Regions from separate parts of the Homo sapiens genome. Here region 2 is linked to region 1. Evidence: promoter capture Hi-C in 16 types of primary human blood cells and fetal thymus (Javierre and others, 2016). All regions are on one chromosome and are shown on one strand. The core of a region is centred on a gene start or on the middle of the fragment in contact, and the rest is flanking DNA. Distances in the headings are between cores, read along the strand shown. Region 1 holds the start of RETNLB (resistin like beta). Region 2 holds the start of GUCA1C (guanylate cyclase activator 1C).

What was found. The method cuts DNA at HindIII sites, captures the fragments that hold promoters and counts their contacts. A CHiCAGO score of 5 or more calls a contact.
Region 2: a contact is called between the fragment with the promoter of GUCA1C here and the fragment with the promoter of RETNLB in region 1, in 10 of 17 cell types (total CD4 T cells, total B cells, naive CD8 T cells and 7 more). The highest score is 10.2, in total CD4 T cells.

Annotation. Positions count from the first base shown.
Region 1 is chr3:108,756,160-108,761,051 of GRCh38, reverse strand. It overlaps RETNLB (resistin like beta), which reads left to right and starts at 3,642. Exons shown (of 3, transcript NM_032579.3): 1 at 3,642-3,993; 2 at 4,464-4,544. The coding sequence starts at 3,867. The HindIII fragment of the contact is 7,429 bases long and covers 575-4,892 here.
Region 2 is chr3:108,951,693-108,956,584 of GRCh38, reverse strand. GUCA1C (guanylate cyclase activator 1C) reads left to right here and starts at 2,706. Exons shown (of 4, transcript NM_005459.4): 1 at 2,706-3,026. The coding sequence starts at 2,823. The HindIII fragment of the contact is 5,644 bases long and covers 1-3,562 here.

The DNA.
Region 1 (4,892 bases), core at 2,393-4,892:
ACATATTGATTAGTCAATGCAGCTTAATTCATGTTTCTAAACTTATATGTTTCTGCTCATCCACTGCCCAGTCTTCTGCTTTCTTTATGTGCTTCACTAAAAACAAATAGATTTCTTTTTTCCTATGAGAGTATCTCTGCACATAGATTCACCTGTGTACTGATTACTCACAAATTTATATCTCCAACTCTTACTGTTTCCCTGAACCCCAGATTTGTATACCTAACTCTGTATGCCACAGCTCCCCCTACATTTCTAATAGGTACATTAAATTGACTATGATCAAATATGATTTTATGTTCCCACCATATCTACTGTTCTCCCAGGGAACCCCATTTCAGTAAGTAGCAGCACTCTTCAATAAGTTATTCAAAACAAAACTCTAGATCTGTACTTCTCTATTTCTTCTACACCTTGCATACATCAGCAAACCCTATGGAGGCTCGGTTCTCACTCCTTCCTTGATTATTCTCCAAGACCTAGAACTCTGTAGAAGCCTGCTGCCTGCTTTCCCTGCTTACATCTTACCTGTTTTCCCTCCGCGGTGTCTCTTCCACAGTGGCCATAGTAAGCTTTATAAAACATTAATCAGGGCCAGGCACAGTGGGTCACACCTGTAATTTCACCTTTGGGAAGCGAGATGGGGGGATCACTTGAGCTCAGGCATTCAAGACTAGCTTAGGCAACATAATAAGGCCTTGTCTCTACAAAAAAAAATTTTTTTTTAAATAGCCGGGTGTGATGGCACACTATTATAGTCCCAGCTACTTGGAAGGCTTAGGCACAAGGATCACTTGAGCCCAGGAGTTTGAGGCTGCAGTGCCATGATCACACCACTGCACTCCAGCTTGGGCAACAGAACTAGACCCTATCTCCAAAAAAAAAAGAAAAATTAAACATTAGAAAACCATAAATCATTTTATGTCACTCCCCTGAACAAAACACTACAATAATTTGCTGTCAAATTTATAATAAAATCCAAAGCCCTTACATTGGCTTACAAGCTCTATATAATCTGGCCCTGGTCAGCTCTCTGACTTCTTCTCTGGCCTTCCCCCTATACTTCATTCTGGCCATATTGCCATTGTTGTCATTCTTTCAACACACTAACCAACTCTCTGCCGTGGGCTCTTTATACTTGTTCCACAGGCTAGAACATTTGTCCCAGATTTTCCTGTGACTCACCCCCTCACTTCTTCAGGTCATTGTTACCTTTTCTGAGACACCTTTCCTGAACATACTGCATTATGGGCAATAGCACAGTGGCACACTCTATTGCCTTGTCTTGACTTATTTTTCTTTACAGCATTTCTCAATACTTGACCATATATACATACATATGTATGTATACACATACATACATATGTATGTATACACATACATACATATGTATGTATACACATACATACATATGTATGTATACACATACATACATATGTATGTATACACATACATACATATGTATGTATACACATACATACATATGTATGTATACACATACATACATATGTATGTATACACATACATACATATGTATGTATACACATACATACATATATATATGTATATATATACATACATATATATATATACACATACATACATATATATAAATACAGTATATGTATATACACTGTATTTATCTCCCCCATTACAAAAGGGCAAAGAGCTTGTCTACGTTGTCCACCACTGAGTCAGCAGAGCTAGAGCTGGTAAAGAGAAGCTCTACAAATTTTCATTGAATTAGCAAACAATTAATCAACCCATCATGTATCCCAAATCCAAGTGTATGCTCTTTCTTATTCTCCAGTCTCATTTTTCTTCTCTTCAACTCCTGTCTGGTAATTGAGGAAGCATCCTTGCCTTTTTGCTGGCATCTCCAGGCCTCATTTCTCAAAGTTGCCTGAGAGAGATATGTATAAGTAATAGCTGTTCATTAGAGGGCATCTCCAGGAAAGTGGGCAGAAAGGCTGGTCACAGAGGTAGAGCCCAGCCTTTCCAGCTCTGACTGCCTCAAGGAATAGTCACCTAACTGCCTTTTTCTGCTTCTCATTTTATTTTATTTTATTTTATTTATTTTTGAGGCAAGGTCTTGCTTTGTCATCCAGGCTGGAGTGCAGTGAAACAATCTCAGCTCACTGCAACCTTGAGGCTCAAGTGATCCTCCTGCCTCAGTCTCCTAAGTAGCCGGGACCACAAATGCATGGTACCACTCCCAGTAAATTTTTTTTTTTTGATAGAGTCTCACTATGTTGCCCAGGCTGGTCTTGAACTCTTGTGCTCAAGAGACCCTCCTGCCTCAGCCTATCAAAGTATTGGAATTATGGGCATGAGCCACAACACATGGCCCCTTTCTCTGCTTCTTCATCTGCACTTCTTTAAATTTTATTTATTCATGGTGGCCACATGCCCCATCCTAGATGAGGAATCATGGCATCCTCATTCCTCTTGGCCATATGTGAATCCTCAAAGTCCTCAATCCCTTATCCATTATTCTAAAATCTAAAAGGCTCTAAAGATGAAAATGTTCTGTCCTAAATTTGAGGCTAACTCATTTGGCAGAAAAACTTGGCATGGCCTGGTGTGAGGCTCTTTATGGTCTTTTATTTATCCCACATTAATATTCATACATTTTGCATCAGGCTATTTATGCATTAGACTGCAGAGTGCTGCCCCCAACCTCCTTGGTGGTTTAACATAATATACAGAATTTGCACCTTCCATAATCTGAAACATTCTGAGTTCTGAAACATACCTGGGCCCCAGGTCTTGGATAAGGAATTGTGAAGCCCAGCTCTCTTTTTCAGCCATAGCTGATAGAAAGGGAGGTTGTGTGACCCAGAACCAAACAGTGGAATGTAAGGGGAAATCTTCTTGAGCTTCTAGAGAAAGATCTTGCTCTTAAAATAAAAAGGTAAAGCCCCTACAGAAAGTGGCCTTGCCCCACTCCTTCCTTCCTGCTCAGGGTCTGGGCTGAGGATGTGGCACCTTCTACCTTGTGACCATGAGGAGACAAGATCGAAAGATTAGCTGAGAATGGTGGGGGAAAAAGGGAAACTTTATGAGCCCCCAAAAGAACTCTGGAATCATAAACCATGCTTCTAGTTAAGTAAATACTGAACTTCCTTATTTTTAATCCAGGATTAATTAGTCTTTCTGTGACTTTCCTCCAAATGAGATTGGCCAGGGACAATAAAATGGTGTCTGAACAGGTGACAAGTAGGGCCCTCCCTCAGCCAACAGAGATAAGAAAGAGCATACACTTGGGTTTGGGATAGATGATGGGTGGATTAATTTGTTTGTTAACTGCAAAGTAACCTCTTCCTGATGAAGGATCAAACAAGAAGCCTATAATACCGGCAGACCACAGAAGGCCCAGGTGCTAGCCTTATCGGGTTGCCAAGAAGAAAGGAGAAGGAGAACAAAAAGGCAGGAGGACTCCCTTGGCAGAGATCCAGAGCAAAGGCAGCTGTTGCTTCTCATGAACACTCCAAAGTTTATCACAGTCACCTGTTACCCTAGCTGGCACAGGTCTTTGAAAGTGTGCTGGGAGTGTGTTTACATGTTTGTGTGTGCTTGTATGTTAAAGGTGCCCAGGTTAATACCAGGTGTATTAAAACGCCCTTGCCTGGCTAGTCCTTGTAGACCTTCTCTGAATGTTTTGGTGAATAAATCTGTTCTTCAGCAACCCTACCTGCTTCTCCAAACTGCCTAAAGAGATCCAGTACTGATGACGCTGTTCTTCCATCTTTACTCCCTGGAAACTAACCACGTTGTCTTCTTTCCTTCACCACCACCCAGGAGCTCAGAGATCTAAGCTGCTTTCCATCTTTTCTCCCAGCCCCAGGACACTGACTCTGTACAGGATGGGGCCGTCCTCTTGCCTCCTTCTCATCCTAATCCCCCTTCTCCAGCTGATCAACCCGGGGAGTACTCAGTGTTCCTTAGACTCCGTTATGGATAAGAAGATCAAGGATGTTCTCAACAGTCTAGGTAACTGACTGGGGTAGGGGAAGCGGGGGGTTGACCCTTGCTCATTTCTCCTGTTCTTAAACTCTAGCTTTGTCTCTATCCCATCCCAAGATCCCAACCAAGCCCAACCCCTGATGAGGGCTTTCTACACTACCCTACCCGTGTTTGAAGTCTTGGCTAAAAGCTGAGGTTTTCCTGATGAGGAGGAAGAGGTGGAGGAGAATGGTAGCTGTAATTTATGAACACTCATTATGAACCAGGTATAATCCAAGTTTTACGTAGATTATTTCATTTAATTCCCACAACCATTTTATGAGGTAAGGACAACTATTACTTCTGCTTTAAAAATGAGGAAACTAACCTTAAAAGCTGATGAGTAGGCTGATTCTGGACACAGTGTCACCTCCAAGGTAGAAGACAATTTGGAAGGGGATAAGGGGATTATGGGGAGGATAGCTCATGGGATGTACCCTTTCTTCTTTCCTACTCAGAGTACAGTCCCTCTCCTATAAGCAAGAAGCTCTCGTGTGCTAGTGTCAAAAGCCAAGGCAGACCGTCCTCCTGCCCTGCTGGTGAGTAACTCCCTGAGAGGGAATGGCGACTACGATGCCCTGTATCCTCCCCTGTCCATCTCCCTGCACCTACGTCTTCCCCCATGTCAGGTCTGTATCACCCTGGCACCCTGGGGCTGAGTCATGACTCTTGGTTCCCAGAGACCCCTTGCCCATTCTTGTTTCCCTGAAGGATGCTACTGGGGGATCTTGGGCTTCTGCCTCTTCCTTTCACCCCTTCACTTCATGCCCCTGTTTCTCAGCCCTTCCTCTCCTCCATTGTCCCATAATGATCACATACTTCATTTCTCTTTCCAATCTATTCCTCTGTTTTGATGGGTAGGGGCCAACAGAGAGGTGAATTTATCA
Region 2 (4,892 bases), core at 1,457-3,956, 200 kb before region 1:
TAGCCTATCATGAATGAAGGCTTTTTCCCATGATCTTATGACTGGCTAATGTTCTATACAGCAAGACTCCTGATTTTTTAATACAATATTGTATTCAATATAAGAATTCTCATTTTACAAATAATTTTAAAGTTTTTTTCTGCATCAGCAAATGATCATTATGCAGGTTTTCTTTTTGTTTCTTTTCTCTTTTTTTTTTTTTTTTTTTTGAGACGGAGTTTCACTCCTGTTGCCCAGGCTGGAGTACAATGGCACGATCTCCGCTCACAGCAACCTCCGTCTCCCGGGTTCAAGCGATTCTCCTGTCTCAGCCTCCCGAGTAGCTGGGATTACAGGTGCCGTGCCACCATGCCTGGCTAATTGTGCATTTTTAGTAGAGACTGGGTTTCACCATGTTGGTCAGGCTGCTCTCAAACTCCTGACCTCAGGTGATCCGCCCACCTCGGCCTCCCAAAGTGCTGGGATTACAGGTGTGAGCCACTGCGCTTGGCCAATTTTCTTTAAAGTAGAATTTATATGAAGAAACAGTTTCTGGATCTCAGGTCCTTATATTCTTGATCCATCCAAAGTTTTCCTTCCTCAAAGGATTTTCCTGCCTCCTTGAAAACTTTTACTACCTTCCTCTGCCATCATCTGTATCCATTTTTTCTTTAATTTAAAAATTAGTGATTAATAAATGTTAATGGTGATAAAAAGTCAGCACCTCTGAGCATCCTCTGGCAGACATTTAGAAACAGTCTTAAAGGGGACTTCCCCAAAGAATGCTTTTTGAAAATTCTAGCAGGATATTTCTCTAATTCCTAGCTGAATAATCCCGAGGCTGAGTCCTCACTGTCTCCCCTTTGTCCTTTTTACTGTCCAAAAAAGAGTATCATTCACTTTAATGGTTTCAAGTAATTCTTTCAAATGGGTTCAAATGGGTGAGTTTTACATTCTATGACCTTATTTTCACCTTTTTTTTTTTTTTTTTTTTTTTTTTTTTTTTTTTTTTTTTAGACAGAGTCTCACTGTCGCCCAGGCTGGAGTGCAGTGGCACAATCTCAGTTCACTTGCAACCTCTGCCTCCAGGATTCAACTGATTCTCTTGCCTCAGCCTCCCGAGTAGCTGGGATTACAGGCGTGCACCACTATGCCCGGCTAATTTTTGTATTTTTAGTAGAAATGGGATTTCACCAGTTGCCCAAGCTGGTCTCGAACTCCTGACCTCAAGGGATCCACCCACCTTGGCCTCCCAAAGTGCTGAGATTTCAGGCATGAGCCACTGTGCCCAGCCCTTTTATTTAACTCTAATTATGACATCGAAATGTCCCATTGAGAGTCTACATTGATATGTTTGAAACAAAATTAACCATATTCACTGTAACCACCACCACTTCTGGTCAAGGCAGTTCATTTAGGCCATGATGGCTACTTCTTAGGAATCAAGGGTTTCATAATAAACAGGTAATCAGTCAGGACTAAGGAATAGGGACAAAGACAGAGACCAGATATATGAGCTGGGCCAAAATGAAAATAAAAGAAAGAATTGAGTGAGGTTAGAAAAGAGAACTGTAGGCCAGGTGTGGTGACTTGTGCCTGTAATCCCAGCACTTTGGGAGGCTGAGGCGGATCATGAGGTCAGGAGATCGAGACCATCCTGGCTAACACGGTGAAACCCCATGTCTACTAAAAATACAAAAAATTAGCTGGGCGTGGTGGCGGGCGCCTGTAGTCCCAGCTACTCTGGAGGCTGAGGCAGGAGAATGGCGTGAACCCAGGAGGTGGAGCTTGCAGTGAGCTGAGATCATGCCACTGCACTCCAGCCTGAGGGACAGAGCGAGACTCCATCTCAAAAAAAAAAAAAAAAAAAGGAGAACTATAATTTAGGGGTAACAGAATTATATTCTACCTGGGGTTTTCTGGTTCTAAGTATGGTTGGTACCAAAATGGGTTGAGGACCACACAAAGCATTCATTTCCACTACTGGACCTTGGATACAGTTCTTAGGTCCATTGACCCTGTTCTTAAGTTCATTGGCAAATGGGGCTTGGTTAGGACAAGATTAGCCAGATTAGAAAACTGGAGTGAGATAAAGCTGGCAGGCCAGTGGCATGTGTAGATACTTGAGAGACCAGAAAAAGGTAAGAACAGAGGGTGGGGGAGAGAAAGGAAGAACACTGCCAGAAGACACAGCCCAATATGTTCCTTTATCTGACTACTACATCTGAAGTTCTTCTTACTACTATTTAATTCTCTTTACCTATTTTTCTCTCTTATACATAGACTTCTTTTTAATAATACTCAATGTATGATTTTTTCATGTAAAATGTTATCTAAATATATCTTCACAATACTCAGGTATGAAAAGGCAGAAACTTTTATTACTGTTTTACAGATGAGGAAACACGAGAATGTAAGTAATGTTTCAATATAGTTAATAAGTGGTAGAACAAAGCATAGAATCTAGGCTTCCTGATTGCAACTCAAAGTTCCTGCCATTAGACCCACTGTACCACTCAATAATGTAGGCAAAATTTATGGCTAACAATATAACAAGGATCACCCTCTCTAAAATATTGCGTGTTCCCTTCACAAAAAACTATGTCTCTGCATGACTGTAAGCATGTTAGTTACCAAGTGCCAAGTGACCTTGGTTTTAAAACTGGGCAGATAAGTTAATCTCACTGGCTTTCTATTCTTATTTAGCTTGTTGCTGTAAGAGGTTTAGAGTAGCTTTCTGAGGGCATATGTTAGCCTTCAGTTTTAGTGAGGAGTAAGGGACTAAATCCAGCAAAAACTTAAGTGAAAACAACCTGAGGAAAAGCTGTAGACTGTGAGTCAAGATGGGGAATGGCAAATCTATAGCTGGTGATCAGAAAGCAGTTCCTACACAAGAGACCCATGTGTGGTACAGAACATTTATGATGGAATATCCATCCGGCCTGCAAACACTACATGAATTTAAGACACTTTTGGGTCTGCAAGGTCTGAATCAGAAGGCCAATAAACATATTGATCAAGTTTATAATACCTTTGACACGAACAAGGTAAGATCTTTCATTTTTCATTTCATTTGAAAATGCTGTGGTTCTGCACTCTTCCCTTTTTTTTTTTTTTCCTGTAAAATAGCCTTAAGTAAAATGTGTACATCCCACTGAATGGAGAGGTCTTCAGGCAACTCACAGCTTGTAGGTAAGTGAGTCATTAAATACTTTTAGTACTGACGGCATGAAAATAATTGGGAACTAGCCTCTCCCACCCTAGGAAGTGTTCTGCATGTAGGGAGTTATTTTAAAACCAGATTAAATCTCGGCATGGAATTCTAATGCTATCATTTAAATAAATCTAATAAGTACAGATTGATTTACAAAGACTGTTTTCGAAGTATTTAATGCATTGGTGACATTTTATAGAAAAGCAAATTACAGGACTCTGCTTTTAAAAGTGTGATTGCATCTAGATTGGCAGATATAATCAATACAAATTAGCCAACATGTTGTCTGTACTCAAATCAAAAGTTAAACTGCTTCATATTACTTTTTTCCCCATAGTTTACCAATTTAGTTTGGGAAAAATGGAAGCTTAACAGTTTTAAATTCAGACAAATTTTTGTTTCTAAAGATTGTTACTCAACTTTTATCTTGAATTTACTCATTCCTGAGGAGCTGTAGTGCATTTAATTTCATTTCTTGAAAAAATACAAAGAAGAGAAAAGAATATATGGAATTGAAAAAAAAAAGAGAGACAAAAAAGCAACAACCTGAAATATCAGGCTCAGGTTCTGCCTGCTTTTACTTGTTTATTTTGGTTATTTTACTGTAGATTTGTATATTTCAAAATGTGTAGATATTGACTAGAATAAAAAGGAACAGAGAAAATGCTAATAGAAAATAATGACTTTAGAAGGCCATCCAACTGATAATAGAAGAGAAAGAAGGGGAGGTAAATTGAGTAAAATTAAAAAAAAAACTGGTTGTTTGATAGGATGTGTAGAATTTAGCAAAATACTTTAAACCAAGAAGCAGGTGACTTAAAAGGAGGTAACAGGCAGGAACTTGGGAAGATTAAACCTGTGCAAAATTAACAGCTGTTTTAATCCTTGTAGCAATGTCAGGAACAGATTTCTTTAGGACATTATGGTATGGTCTTTTGTGCTTTGTTACCAAATATGAGTTAAGCACTGCCTGTTCAGCATGACAGTGCTTTCCTCCTCATCAATTTTACTTAGTGTCAATGCAAGCAAAAGGCGATCTTCAAGGAGCTGACAAATCAGTGGGAAAATGTGACAGATTCCGCTTTTGTTATTAATCCTGGAAGTGTGTTCCAGATACTATAAGCATGATGCCACGTTGTCTTTATTTGCCTCTCCCTGTGTATGTCTCTCTCAGCTCTCAATCTCAGTTTTCTCTTTCTTTCTCTCTGTCATTCTCTGTGCTTCACTCTTTGTATGGCTGCTATAAGCAGCCCAATATCAGGATGAAAGTCTGTTGCTCTAGACAGCAGCTTCTTAGGCTCTAAGTACTCCTGAGAGGTTAGAAAATGAGCTATCGAGTTTTACAGTTATTATCCAAAGGCGTTGATGTCATATCCCATGCCAGCCGTTAGGTTGCTAGCCCAGTATTTGTGAACGCATTGTACATGTCAGTGGTTCACATGCAAGAGTGGGAACATGTGGAAAGGAGTCCTGGGTGGAAGCAAGGATCTGCTGTCAGATGAAGCCCACTGTCAAGGAAGCAGGGACAATGTCCAAACAGGTGTGTGTGTGTCCTTGGTGTGAGAGCCCTCTCAGTGTCCACCACAGGAATGGCCCGACCCATCCCAGGAGCTTAATTTAGATGGCTTGGAAGTTCTGCTGCTATTCATCAAAGAGATTTTATGTTTGCTTAGGAAGGAAGTGAGCCTAAGCAGTAATG